5 separate regions of the Homo sapiens genome follow, and all the other regions are linked to region 3. The links are contacts of gene promoters, found by promoter capture Hi-C in blood cells and fetal thymus (Javierre and others, 2016). All regions are on one chromosome and are shown on one strand. Each heading gives the region's core, a stretch centred on a gene start or on the middle of the fragment in contact. The rest is flanking DNA. Distances are from core to core; before and after follow the strand shown. Region 1 overlaps PRIM2 (DNA primase subunit 2). Region 2 overlaps PRIM2 (DNA primase subunit 2). Region 3 holds the start of KIAA1586. Region 4 overlaps PRIM2 (DNA primase subunit 2). Region 5 overlaps PRIM2 (DNA primase subunit 2).

Region 1 (2,700 bases), core at 77-2,576, 300 kb before region 3:
GGTGTCTCACGTCTGTAATCCCAGCACTTTGGAAGGCCGAAGCAGGCAGATCACCAGGTCAAGAGATCAAGACCATCCTGACGAAAATGGTGAAAACCCGTCTCTACTAAAAATACAAAAATTAGCTGGTCGGGGTGGCACACACCTATAGTCCCAGCTACTTGGGAGACTGAGGCAGATAATAGCTTGAACCCGGGAGGCAGAGGTTGCAGTGAGCCGAGATCGCGCCACTGCACTTCAGCTTGGCAACAGAGAGACTCTGTCTCAAAAAAAAAAAAAAAAAAAAAGGGCAGGAAGGATGTGGGAAAATCTGTGGTTGTACAGAACTACTCAGTGCACTGTAAATGCACCAGCATCCCCATCTCCTGTCTACTAAACACCTGTTGGACTTGCCAATCATTTTTACAAACACCAAAAATACCATAAAGATGGCCAAAATATCCAGCAGGGGTGACTATAACCCCTATAGTCCAGAACTACTGGACTGAACCAACAAGCCATCCTTGTGAAAGGCTCAGTTTGAAACAGTAGGCTTTCCTCTATGGCATCTCTCTTGTGAGATAGTAAAAAAAACCAACTCAAGTCCATAACTTTTCTTTTCCTGGCCTATTAAAATAATGACTCCCACTTCAAGTACAAAATCTACTGCCTGATAAAACTTAATTTAAAATTTTAAAAATATATTTTTTACCTACTGCCTGGATTTTGATTTACACTGATCTTTGAATATTATACATGAGTTAATTGTTGAACATGAACTAAAATATACAATGTGATCTGAAAAATGTTTTTAAAAAGATAAACAAAAGGTAGCAGAGAAGAAAAACAAAAAGGGCATAGAAAAACTACGGGCTAGAAAACAAACCCCTCAACGACTAAGTTGGATGAATATAATGTTTTCCCTAGAGATGGCAATATTATACCGAGAAAGCTACCAATGGTATATTTAATATATTTGGTTTCCATTCCTGCCAACAACTGTCAGCTAAAATGAAACATCTCAGTAAAATTATAGTTAATGCTTTAATTTCCGAAACTAATGTAAATCTCTAAACTCACACCTGTGTTTGTATAGCACTTTTGATGGGCCCTGTCACCTTAAATGTCAGCATCTATTCCACTTCATTTCAATAGTTAAGCTGTGAAGAAATCTACTCATATATTTAGTAACATGCTTTGTGACTTATACATCTCTAAATATTTAGAAGACTAATTTTAAGGAAAGTTACTTAACCTGTCTGAGCTTCAGTTTCCTCATGGAGCTGTTGTGAGGATTAAATTACATAAACCTGGCTGGTCACAGTGACTCACACCTGTAATTCCAGCACTATGGGAGGCCAAGTTGCAAGGATCACTTAAGGCCTGAAGTTCAAGACCAGCCTAGGCAACACAGTAAGAACTTATTTCTATAAAAGAAAAAATTAGCCAGGCAGGGTGGCATGCGCCTGTATTCCCAGCTACTTGGGAGGCTGAGGTGGGAGGATCACTTCAGCCCAAGAGTTCAAGGCTGCAGTGAGCTGTGATCACACCACTGCACTCCAGCCTAGGCGACAGAGCAAAACTGTCTCTACCACAGAAGAAGAAGTTAAATTTTTTTACCCATGTGAAGTATTTACCAAAGTGCCTGGCACTTAACAAACACATTACAAATGTTAGCTATTAGTGATAATCTCTCCTCAGTCTCCTTATATCACCAGATAAATCTAAACCTTAATAAGTCCACTACTTATACAGTCATCAATAAATATTCCTCCTTTAGAAAACAAGGACCCCATCCAAGTCTGGAAACAGTCCTCTGGGTTTTCCAATATTCATACAGAAGCCTTATTCCTTGGACCAACTAAAGGGAATTGGAATATATTTGGCTATTAAGCTCCAAGATAACAGAAGGATTCTCCTGGAATGGGGAGAGCACACTTTGACCAGAGATGAACAGGAAACAAAGCCAGACAGGAGGCAGGTATCAATAGCCGAAGTACAGCACAAGGTATTTGAAAGTCATGGAGATAAACAAACAGAAGCAAGCAGAGAATAAATGGAGACAAGTCCAGAATAGGGGTATTAACTGTGCTGTTGTCCTTTGTATGCCTTCAGAGGGGTGGGGAGTAGCAGAATGGATATATTCACAGGGCCTGGACCAAATGGATTTGTTACGCAACTACTTCCTCCTCCCTTTGTAACTCAGATTAAGCCACTCAAAGACTGAGAACACAAAATGATTACCTTTACAACTCCATTTGCCCTCCACATCCCTGGTTCTTATTCTCATCCAAAAGACCTAGGATAAGGCAATCTGACCTAGACTCTGAACTAGACCATGACACAAGACTTCAGCCAAAAAGAATTAACTTTTCAGGGAACTTGGAGGAAAGAGGGAAAGATTATAAAGATTATGGAATTTTTAAAAATGTATACATGGCTGGGCGTGGTGACTCACGCCTGTAATCCCAACACTTTGGGAGGCCGAGGTAGGCGGGTCACAAGGTCAGGAGTTCAAGACCAGCCTGACCAATATAGTGAAACCCCGTCTCTACCAAAAATACAAAAATTAGCCAGGCATGGTGGTGGGCGACTGTAATCCCAGCTACTCGGGAGGCTGGGGCAGGAGAATCATTTGAACCCAGGAGGCGGAGGAGGTTGCAGTGAGCTGAGATCATGCCATTGGACTCCAGCCTGGGCGACAGAGTGAGACTCCGTCTC
Region 2 (2,701 bases), core at 46-2,545, 370 kb before region 3:
ACTTGATCCAGGAGGCAGAGGTTGCAGTGAGCCGAGATCACACCATTGCATTCCAGCCTGGGCGACTGAGAGAGACTCCATCTCAAAAAAAAAAAAAAGAAAGAAAAGAAATACTTTTGAATTTAATGTCTTCTATTTGACTACATAAATTAATGCAAAAAAAAGAGTTCTATAAATTTAAACTGTACGTTTGATGAAATGTCATAGCTCAAATTATAATGCAAGATATATTTTTAAGACTGGTACAGTCAAGATCCAGTCTTGTAGATAATAAACTTATAAATTAAGACTGACATCTTTTGAATCTTTCATCTGGTTCTAGTATCTTACATCTATTCTAGATGATTATTTTGAAGCCAGAATTCAAGGAGCACAGACTTTGATTTTCAGCAGATAAATTCTATCAGAATATCAAATGTAAAGAGACTGCTCTTTGAATGGAGAAAAGAAAAGCATACAAAGACAGTACTTCAAAATACAGAAAAATGAAAATCTTGAGTGGCAGAGACTCTAACCACCAATAGTCAAGCTTCTCATTTGGCAACATAAGAGGAAGTGGGATGGAAAGCTGAAATAAAAGGAAAGACAGCATGCAAATAGCTATCACTGAATAGTCTGGCAAAAATGTAAAGCAAGGTCAAACTGTTAACAATGATCATTGTAATACTTACAAAAGAAAACTCACATTCACAATAAAAACACAGATGTCACAAACATTTAAAATTCTCTAACATTTGCTTACAGCTTACATAATAAGGCTTAATGAACACTAAAATTGTAAAGCAAAATATTTTCCCAAGTTTTGCATACTAGAGAGCTGTTGCTTCATTAAAACAAAAGAATTTGATATATCAGTGCCATTACTCAAATAGACAAACTTAACAACTAGCCTGATAAAAATCTGTTAAGGAAAAAGATAGGGGTTGTGTCTCTGGTTTCAAACTTTATTTTGTGATTTGGGCTCTAAATATGTCTAATAAAATTTTTGACTCAAATTTTATTTAATCTCTTTTGTTCCAGATATTACTTTAGTCCTTTATTCACCACTGTAAGGTTTTGTTCTATTTTCTATGACTTTCTTGAAAATCACTAAATACAATGGCCTCTTCTCAGTCTTCATACTCCTGACTATCTGCTCCTTGGTCTACCATCTTTGAGCTTCTCTGAGTGCTCTTCCATCCTTCTAGAAGATTCGTTTTCAGATTTCTTCACTGTCTCCTTCCACCATCTGCCCTGTAATTGTGAAAAGCCTCTCCTTTCTCCCCATTTCATGCTGCTACCCTTAGTACTCTAATCCAATTTCAATGCAACCTTGAATAACTGTCACTACTATCCCTGATCTCTTTTCTGAATGCTAGAATTACATTTCCAATTACATGCCAGATATCTCCACAAGTGAATATTTCTATGGCATCTCAAAGTAAACATGTCCAAAACTAAAATCATTGTTCCATACCCTCCAACATCCAAACAGACCTACTATCAACATAGTTATTTTCCTTCCTCCTCCAATTCACCCCAAAATACAATCTGATACCAAGTCCCCATGGATTTTGGATCAATTCTTAGCCATCCTGGCAGATATCAAAAAGCCTCTGTCTTCATTTTGCTGCCTTATCTTCTAATCAACCCAGGACCAGCTAAGATTGTTAGCTGAACATGGAAGAAGCTGACTAGCAGAAAATGAGTTTATTAAAAGGCTACTAGGAAGCTCACAGAATTGTTGGGAAGATGAAATATTATTCTTTTTTTTTGAGATGGAGTCTCCCTCTGTCACCCAGGCTGGAGTGCAATGGTGCAATCTCAGCTCACCGCAACCTCCGCCTTCTGGGTTCAAGGGATTCTCCTGCCTCAGCCTCCTGAGTAGCTGGGATTACAGGTGCACGCCACCACACCCAGCTAATTTTTGTATTTTTAGTAGAGACAGGGTTTCACCACGTTGGTCACATTGGTCTTGAACCCCTGACCTCGTGATCTACCCGCCTTGGCCTCCCAAAGTGCTGAGATTACAGGCACGAGCCACTGTGCCTGGCCAAAAAACTATTCTTAAAGTTAAGCTTCCAGGCTCAAAAGAGGAACTAATTAGTTCTAAAACAGGACTAATTATTAATAGAAAATGGCCATCACTGCTGTTTAGCATCCCACAGAGTACTAAAGAAAACCACTCCCACTGTGGGAAATCAATCTAGCAACCACCAAAAAGACACTGCTGCCACCAAAGGCAGAAAGTCTCTGCTCACATCCACCACTGCCACCACCAAACACAAAAGCTCGATGAAGATTCTGTTTCCTCAGTTCCAAATCAAAGTCCTGTTCTGTTTCCTCAGTTCCAAATCAAAGTCCTGTGAGAGGTGAGTCTAATCAACGAAGTATAAGTCATATGCTTATGATCTGGTTACAAAAGAGAATGAGAATTTGAGTGCTGTCTTCTATATTGGTGGGAGTAACACTTACATTAGCAAGACATTTTATTTATTAAAAAAAAATTCCCAAATGTAAGACTTTATTCAAAAACCGAGGGTTAAATATGAATGCAACCACTACTACATACTACCCCTCCCTCCTGCCCTCATCTCCAATCCTATAATAAATTCATACAAAATCATACCAGAGTCTGGTAAATATATATTAACAGAATTGCTGGAACTGGACCCAGTCTCTAGCTCAGAGTATTTGGCTGGAGCCCAAATTCCCTGCCTGC
Region 3 (2,807 bases), core at 170-2,669:
CTCCCTTCTGCTTTAGAAACCCATTCTGTCCAAAGTGTGCTCAGAAATCCTTATGTCCCTGCACTTGTCTGAAAATGAAGATTCCTAGGCCCCCGCCTGGAAATTCTGATTCGGTAGGTCTGCAGTGGGGCCCAGGAATCTGCCTGTTTATACTTACTAAGGCTTGAAAACTACTGTCTCAAAGGGAACAAACTCAGAAAAATAGAGCATGTTCCCAGTGATGTAGGATTCTTCATTATGAGCATCAACTGTACTATGCCGTAACATGATGATCTCAGAGGTTAGAGAAATCTTCAAGCTATTTGCCTTCATGTTAGAAGCACCATAACGCTAAGATTCTGGGCTCTCACAACCCTTCCTGTTTTCTACGTCCTTGCTCATCATTAGCAGCTCCTTCCTCCGTGTCGCCTTTAGAAGTTACTCTTGCTCCATTTCAAAACAGCGTTTTAGACACCAGCGTTTTTATCTTAAGTTTAAATGAAAGGCAGGGGGCGAGATTAAGTGTACAGCACGTTCTTTAGGACGTGCTCTTTGTGATGGCTACGGGGGTGGCTCAGATAGCTCTTTTGGTAAATTTCCCAATCCTGCGCCATGCTCCAGTGTCTAGTATGTATTAGACACTCATGAACATTAAATGACCAGGTGAGGTAACATTACATAATGGCCCACCATAGTCTTTTACTCTGGGAAAACCCCAATCATCATTGCTACTTACACTGACAAACTGAATGTCGTCTTCATTTTCATCCGTTGTTGACTCAGATGCCTCAGGGCCAGCTGGAGGGACAGATTCTATTATCTATAAAAACAAGCCAAAACATGCTTATCTGTTCAGCCACATTCGTGTAGGAAGAGAGCGTTTCCGAAAGGAACAATTAAAGACAGAGAGCTCTTGAGGAAAACGAACTGAGCACAATTTCACGGAAACCCGACTAGGAACGGAACTCGAGCTCTGGCTCTTGCCACAGAGTGTGCGGAGCTGCAGGGACCCAACGCTGAAAACGCGTTAGTTACCAGCCTCTCACAATTCCCCTTATCTACTCCAGGAGGAACGCAAGCTCAACACCGAAGGGCAATCCTGCCTTAAAACGTCGCTCCCACTGGCCCAGCCGCGGCCACAACGAACGCCAGGGCCCGTGCGGGGGGCCGGGCGGCCATTGTTGCTGCGGGTTCCTCGCTCAGACACGCACCAGGCCCCAGAGCTGGGCTCGGCCCAAGACACTGAAGAGGTATCGCCCCGAGGCTGCGACGGAGCACCAGGCCTCAGACCGCAGAAAACACAAACCCTTCGCGGTTCGCCTCTGAGAACGCCAGGACCCTCACTCGACTACTCACTTCCGACCCCGGGTCTCCCATGTCTCCGACGGCCGCGCTGACAGCACCACTGCTCCTGCTGTCCCTACTGCCGCAGCCGCCACCACTCCCCTTCCCGCCCTGCACCGCCTCGCGCTACCGGGACCCGCCCCTGCGTGAGCTGGGAGGCCACTGGCGGAAAGAGACGAAAACCGCTTCAAAAGAGGGGCAGCCCTCACTGGTCCGCTATCTCCCCGGAGCCTCTTTCTCTCATTCCCGGGCTTCCTTCCCCGCGCCGCAGAGGATGCTGGGATGGTAGTTCCTACCCGCCGCGCGACCGCGCCGCGCGACTGCCCCGCGCGTGGGTGAAGAATGGAAAAAGACTCTGAGCTACAGCGAAGTCGTCTCCCTTCGGTGTTGCTCTACTATAATAAAATAGCCGAGTTCTTTCTCTCACTTTTTCACAACCAAATATTCGTCTATGTAATAGATCAATGGGAATGAAAAAAAATTGTGTGTGATTTGCTCAGAAATTGCCTTACCAAAATCGTGGCTCACCTTTTTATTTTAACATTTATTCACAAATGATTTTAAACATGAAATTTATGAAAGCAAATTTTAACAGAGAATATTCTTTTAAAGCTTTTATTTGTTTACCTCTATCAGCCTAGGACCACCTGTTATTGACAAGTCTGTAGTCCCAGAAAATCACCTTTATCATTTTGACCCTGATCTACAATGCACAAAATTATACAACAAAGGAGCTATGAGGTATCTGATTAGCCAACTGATCTTCAGCAAAGCAAACAAAAACATAAAGTGGGGAAAGGACACCCTTTTCAACAAATGGTGCTGGGATAATTGGTGACCCACATGTAGAAGAATTAAACTGGATCCTCATCTCTCACCTTATACAAAAATCAACTCAAGATGCATCAAAGACTTAAATCTAAGACCCGAAGTCATAAAAATTGCTCAAGATAACACCGGAAAAATACCTTCTAGACATTGGCTTAGGCAAAGACTTCGCGATGAAGAACCCAAAAGCAAATGCAACAGAAACAAAGATAAATAGACTGAACTTAATTAAACTAAAAAGCTTCTGCACAGCAAAAAAAATAATCAGCAGAGTAAACAGACAACCCACAAAGTGGGAGAAAAGGAGAACATAGGAACAAAGGAAAACATAGACTTACTAGGATTTTAAGGAGTTGGTGAAATTTAAGTGAAGCAGTGTTTTGATAGGTTCAAAACCGTCTAGTGCTGTGTGTAAAGGGTTCAACATCACATACGGACTGCATAGCGAGCCCAGGGTCTTGTTAACTTCAAAACTACAAAGTTAACACACACAGAGTATTGTGCTCAGAAACCCCTTCCTCCGTGTAGCCATGCCCTAAGTGTGTGGATTTATTTCTGGGTACTGTATTCTGTTCCATTTGTCTGTGTGTCTGTTTTTATACCAGTACCATGCTGTTTTGGTTACTATAGCTCTGTAGTAGAATTTGAAGTCATGT
Region 4 (2,700 bases), core at 30-2,529, 320 kb before region 3:
ATCATACCTATCTCATGTAGCTTTTCTTGGGATTAAATAAAGTATGTAAAGTGTGTACAATAGGCCTAACATACAGCACACCCTTAGTACATGGTAAACACTTGTTGTTACTACCTGTAATTTACATTTTGATTAGTTTCTGTATTTCAGGCTTTTTCCTCAAGTAATAAAGTGAAATGTTTACTGCAACTAATGCAGTTTCTATAAACTTGTCATTTCATTAAACTAACACAGGTCTTGGTGTATAGGGGAATTCAAAATAACTGATAAAAGCCAGCTAGGTTATCACTGCAACATCTTATAATCAAGGTGTAGTATGCTTCACAAAGTAAACATCCTCCTAAAAAGAGGTGTATAAACAAATGGCTCAACATGAAACACACATTTTTTGAGTGACTTACATTACTATTTTAGAGATGCTCAACCTTCACTCTGATTAATGTCCAATCAACAGAGACTCTGAACATTCTAGCTTTGAAGTTCTGCTCTTGCCACTACTACTCATAATTCCCCACATCTCAATCCCTATTATTCATATCCACCCACTCAACAGTCAGTACCTGAATGTTTCAAATGGTAGCACATGGTATAACGGTATAGTTTTTTATCAAGTAAAAATTACACTGGGTTTTAACTGTTTTGGCAAAGTTATATTTCCATATTCCAAAATTATGTTGTTTTATATGCTGCCTTGCTAACAGAATTAAGGATTTTGGCTGTGTGTCTTTTTCTTTTTTATATTCTTCATCAAACCAGGAACTGAGAGAGGCAATTTCACTCTGTTGAAATCCTGAAAGCAGATTAAGGAGCAGCTCTAGAGAGGCAAATACTCTACACAGTAAATAGAAGGGTAGTGGATGTCTGTGTAGACTGTATCGCTATTCACCCTGTACTGAGTCCCTCACTGAGGGAGAATTATACACCCCCTACCTGCTGAACTAAAGTGTAGCCAAGTGACTTGCTTTGGCCAGTGAAATGTGAGTGGAAGTGACGTGTGTTATTCCTAAGCAAAAGCTTTCTGAGCATGTATTTTACCCAGTTCTCTCCTCCTTTTGCCGCAGCAACTGGTGAAGTTCCGGTATACAGAGCCTACTCGATCTGCCTGAGTCCAGGGACAAAATGACACACAGCAGGGTTGTAGCTGGCCCATGAAGACACAGAATATGAACAAGGAACAAACCTTTCTATAAGTCACTGAGGTTTGGGGGTCGTTACCAATGCATAAACTAAACTGACTGGAACAGTGACCTTCATCTTTGCATCACACATTGTCATCAATGAAGTTTTTTCAGCACATACTTCCAATATATGTATATTTATTTATAAATTATATGTATGTATTACTGTACATTCTGCACTTAAAACATGCCATACCCATCCCCAAAATGTGGAACGGATGAGACTAAAAATATATGTTGTATTATTTATTTCTTTCCCACATTCCCAAATGATCATCTTGGGGATGCCATGTTGGAACCACTAGTCTAGTACACTGGCATCAAAAGTAAAGATATAAATAAGGCTTCCCAGAGATTTAAGCTTCTATAAGCTTCCAATCAACAATACTCAATCACATTTATAAATAGTTTGGATAGTTTCTATTTGAATCTACAGAGCTTTCTTAGACCCTGGTCATTAAGTAAGTATGTACATTACTTGCCAGTGAAGCTTTTTAAAATTACAGATTCCTGGTGCCACCCAGACCTACAGACTGAAGCCCTGAGCTGTATGTTTTTTTTTAAGGTCCATTAGTGGTTCGACATACATCACTGGTCTAAACAGCATATCCCAGGAAAAGAATCCGCTTTTCTAAAATAAATGTATGATATATATATGATATATATAAAACAATTAGGAATCATTTCATTTATAAAGAAATTAAAACTGTGAATAGATCAAATGCTGAAAGCAAATATCATAATTTTTAATACTGTTATTATCATTTCAAATAAATATAGGTTCTATATTGGTAGCAAATACTGTGATTATAAAGGGCAATTTGTTTCCCAAATGCACTGTGATGTAATCATCAATCTGGAGTACATGGGGATTAAAGATGGCTGCAAAGTCTTTGACACATCCTCCGTTGAGAGCTAAGATCTATTTGCCCTCCCCTTGAATCTGGCCTGGCCTGTGACTACTTTGACAGGAACGAGTGATGCCCTGCCAGGCCCAGGCCTATTTTTTGAGAGGACTGGCAGATTCTGCCTTGTTCACTTGGAGTCCTAGATCATGAAGTAAGAAGTCCAACCACCTCGTTTGAGGGATCACATGGAAAGGCGTCCAGCAGAGTCCAGCCTTTTAGAAGTCCTCACATATGCACAAGCATGTGAGTAAAGCTGTCTTAGACATCCTAGACCAGACTAGTTGTCAACTAAGAAAGCCCATATATAATACTATGTGGAACAGAACAATTGCCCTGTAAGCCCATTCTGAATCCCTAACCCTCGAAAGTGTGAGATATAATAAGATGGGTACTGTTTTAAGTTTTAGAATTAAGTTTTGATTTTAAGTTTTAATGTTAGGTTTTGGAATTGTTGTTTTAGGTTTGGAGGTATTTCTGACACAGTGATAAATAACCCAAATATTTATCAACCTAAAATAAGTTAGTTTTAAACATTTTTTTCTATCTGTAATCCAGTTCTTACAAAGTACTTTCTTCATTTAAATGTATAAAGGAGAGCCATATAATAGGAAAAA
Region 5 (2,870 bases), core at 43-2,542, 340 kb before region 3:
ATTCTAGGCAGTGTAATATAATGGTCAAGAACATAGACCTTGATGCCAGACTGTATGGATTCAAATCCTGCTTCTGCTCCTCACTACCTGTATAAAGATACTACAAGCCTCAGAGAGTGATAATGGTACCTGCCTTATAGGGTTACCATAAAGACTAAATGCATTAATTCATATAAAGCATTTAGAATAGCACTTGGCAAATATTAAATTTTCACTATGCTTAAGCTCTCATCATCATCATCATTATGCTGATTCTTCTCTTTCTCTCACAACCAATCCACCATGTCAATATTACTTTAAAAACTAACTGAAATCCACTGACTTCTGTCAGTCATATCACCACAACCAATCCATTTCAAGCCACTATCTAGATTAATGTGAAAACTTCCAGACTAGTCCTCCCGCTTCCATTCCTTTTTTATCCTCCAAAATGGCTTTCAAGCAGCAGCCACAGTCATCTATTTAAAACATAAATCAGATCATATCACTCACTTATTCAAAATCATCCAATGTCTTTCAACTACATTAGGCTAAAAAAAAATCAAACTCTTTACCCTGGGACTCTACCTCAAAGTCTCACAGAGTCTACACCTAGCCATTGCAGCCTCACATGGTAGCACTCTACCGTAGCTCACTATGCTCTAGCTACACTGGCCTTTTTGATTCTAAAAAAAAAGGCCAAGATTCCTCCCTTTGGGGGCCTTTGCATTAGTGACTTTTCCTGCCTGGAATGCAGTTTCCTCTATATTTGTTCAGCTGGCTCCTTCATGTCATTTACAATATTGTTATTGTTTATTTCTTCAGTAATTGTCTGTCTCCCACTAGAATATAAGCTTTGTAAGAGAAGAAATCTCATCTAATTTGTTAAGTAGTATCTCTAGTACCCAAACCTATGCATGGATGAACAAATAAAAAGTTATTTAAAAATAAACCATTAAATAAAAGAACTGGCTATAGCTTCTAAAATTGCCATATGAAGCAAAAAAAATCTATCTTTCCCTCATTCTTTTCCCTAACTGGTTATCAATCTATTCTACCGTAGCTCCAAATTCACCCCTTGGGCCTGCTCTGTGACTGGACCTTAATATACTTACCTTTGAATATTTTATCAGAGTTTGAAGACCTAAATCACCTGGTTATACAACTCCTGACAAAGGCACAGTTACCATCAAAAGACCCTAAGAATTACAATCAGAAAACCTGAGATCAAGTCAGGGCTCCAGCAATTATTAGCCAACATAATCTTAGACAAATTACTTTGGCCTCTCTGTGCTGCATTTTCCTCATCCATATAATGCACATTATAACCCCTTTCTCTCTCAGTGACTTATAGTGGGATTAACAGTATGTATAAACAGTAAACTGTGAACAAAAGCAAGTTTATATCATTATTTGGTATCTGTCAGTTCAATAAAATTTTACTGACCACTAACCCTATGTGCCACATGCTATACCAGATAAAAATTTGAATTAAGAGAAATTCCTCACTCTCAAAGAACTTACATTTTAATTGAGGAGGAAAACACATAATGAGAATAATTTCACCGTAATTTGGTCGTGTGCAGAATGCTGTGGGAACACAAAGGAGATATACTTAGCACAATCTTGGGACTTAAAGGGAAGGTTCTGGGCCACAGAGTTCCTATCAAAGGAAAAAGTAATGTCAATTTTTTATCAGTCCTAAACCATGTTCAAAAGCTAGATAGTCATATTATAAAAGTCATATGGTCACAGGTTAAGAATAAGCTTTCAGTTGTCACCTGGGGTAAAACTCTCATCAATTTACAACTTCCCCCAGAACCATTTATTTCATCCTCTACCACTCATCAAAATACCTTTCAAAAAATCTACTTTAGGGTACTTTTTCTTATCCTACAAGAATATTTCCATTTATAAAGCTGAAAGTTTTCAATTACATACTCCAAGGTCAAAACCTTCCTCAATGGAAAGGACAGTAATAAAGAGACCATAGCAATAGGTTTAGATTTCTACTTCGCCACAGCCCTAAATGAACTCCTTCGCTTCCCTCCTGCTCCTTTCCACAGCTGTCAGGACAGGCTCCCAGGCAACAACTCCCACCACTCTCCTACATAAGAAAAAGTGTTCTCTGGACCTCCTCTCAACCAGGCTCGGCCCTGAACCACCCAGGAGAAAGCAAGTCACTGTCTGTCTTCTATTAAATCCAAGACACCAAGGCCAGAACTCTCCACAACCCACCTGTAATCAGGACAAATCCTTTTCTTTCTTTCTTTCTTTCGTTCTTTTTTTTTTTTTTTTTTTTTTGAGACAGGGTATCACTCTGTCGCCCAAGCTGGGGTGCAATGGCATGATTATAGCTCATTGCAGCCTTGATCTCCCAGGCTCAAGTGATCCCCCCACCCCAGCCTCCCAAGTAGCTGGGACTACGGGCACATGCCACCACGACTGGCTATTTTGTTGTTGTTGTTGTTGTTGCTGTTGTTGTTGTTGTTGTTTTTAGTAGAGACTGATTCTCACTATGTTGCCCAGGCTGGTCTCAAACTCCTGAGCTCAAGCAATCCTCCCACCTCCTCCTCCCAAAGGACGAGGGTTACAGGTGTGAGCCACCCCACTCAGCCAGAATAAATCCATTTAAAGTAAATCTAAATCCATTAAAGCTGTACACAGATATACTCAATACCCTACAATTCCATTCCTAAACACATAACCAACAGAAATATGTTTTCCAAAATATGTGCTACAATGTTCAGAGCAGCAGTATTTGTGATAACCAAAAAAAAAAAAAGAAAACAAAAGCCAAATGCCTATCAACAATAGAATGGATAAATTTTGATAAAGTCAATCAGAATTGGGCTGAATCAAAATCATGTAATCTGATAGAATGCAATGAA

Evidence for each region. The method cuts DNA at HindIII sites, captures the fragments that hold promoters and counts their contacts. A CHiCAGO score of 5 or more calls a contact.
Region 1: a contact is called between a fragment that was not itself captured here and the fragment with the promoter of KIAA1586 in region 3, in 4 of 17 cell types (activated CD4 T cells, total CD8 T cells, total CD4 T cells and 1 more). The highest score is 7.2, in activated CD4 T cells.
Region 2: a contact is called between a fragment that was not itself captured here and the fragment with the promoter of KIAA1586 in region 3, in 1 of 17 cell types (non-activated CD4 T cells). The highest score is 6.0, in non-activated CD4 T cells.
Region 4: a contact is called between a fragment that was not itself captured here and the fragment with the promoter of KIAA1586 in region 3, in 2 of 17 cell types (total CD4 T cells and activated CD4 T cells). The highest score is 5.5, in total CD4 T cells.
Region 5: a contact is called between a fragment that was not itself captured here and the fragment with the promoter of KIAA1586 in region 3, in 3 of 17 cell types (activated CD4 T cells, total CD4 T cells and non-activated CD4 T cells). The highest score is 7.2, in activated CD4 T cells.

What each region holds. Positions count from the first base shown.
Region 1 is chr6:57,346,335-57,349,034 of GRCh38, reverse strand. The region is part of intron 5 of PRIM2 (DNA primase subunit 2); the gene reads right to left. Among named protein-coding and RNA genes, the nearest start is that of PRIM2, 30 kb to the right of the region's middle. RefSeq lists an enhancer at 1,580-2,080. The HindIII fragment of the contact is 8,245 bases long and covers 1-2,700 here.
Region 2 is chr6:57,419,556-57,422,256 of GRCh38, reverse strand. The region is part of intron 7 of PRIM2 (DNA primase subunit 2); the gene reads right to left. Among named protein-coding and RNA genes, the nearest start is that of MIR548U, 31 kb to the right of the region's middle. The HindIII fragment of the contact is 1,528 bases long and covers 532-2,059 here.
Region 3 is chr6:57,045,305-57,048,111 of GRCh38, reverse strand. It overlaps KIAA1586, which reads right to left and starts at 1,419. Exons shown (of 4, transcript NM_020931.4): 1 at 1,336-1,419; 2 at 716-799. The coding sequence starts at 1,356. RefSeq lists enhancers at 1-831, 1,648-1,737 and a silencer at 2,367-2,661. The HindIII fragment of the contact is 6,924 bases long and covers 1-1,937 here.
Region 4 is chr6:57,367,325-57,370,024 of GRCh38, reverse strand. All of the region lies in intron 5 of PRIM2 (DNA primase subunit 2), which reads right to left. Among named protein-coding and RNA genes, the nearest start is that of MIR548U, 21 kb to the left of the region's middle. The HindIII fragment of the contact is 525 bases long and covers 1,017-1,541 here.
Region 5 is chr6:57,385,831-57,388,700 of GRCh38, reverse strand. The region is part of intron 7 of PRIM2 (DNA primase subunit 2); the gene reads right to left. Among named protein-coding and RNA genes, the nearest start is that of MIR548U, 2.9 kb to the left of the region's middle. The HindIII fragment of the contact is 913 bases long and covers 836-1,748 here.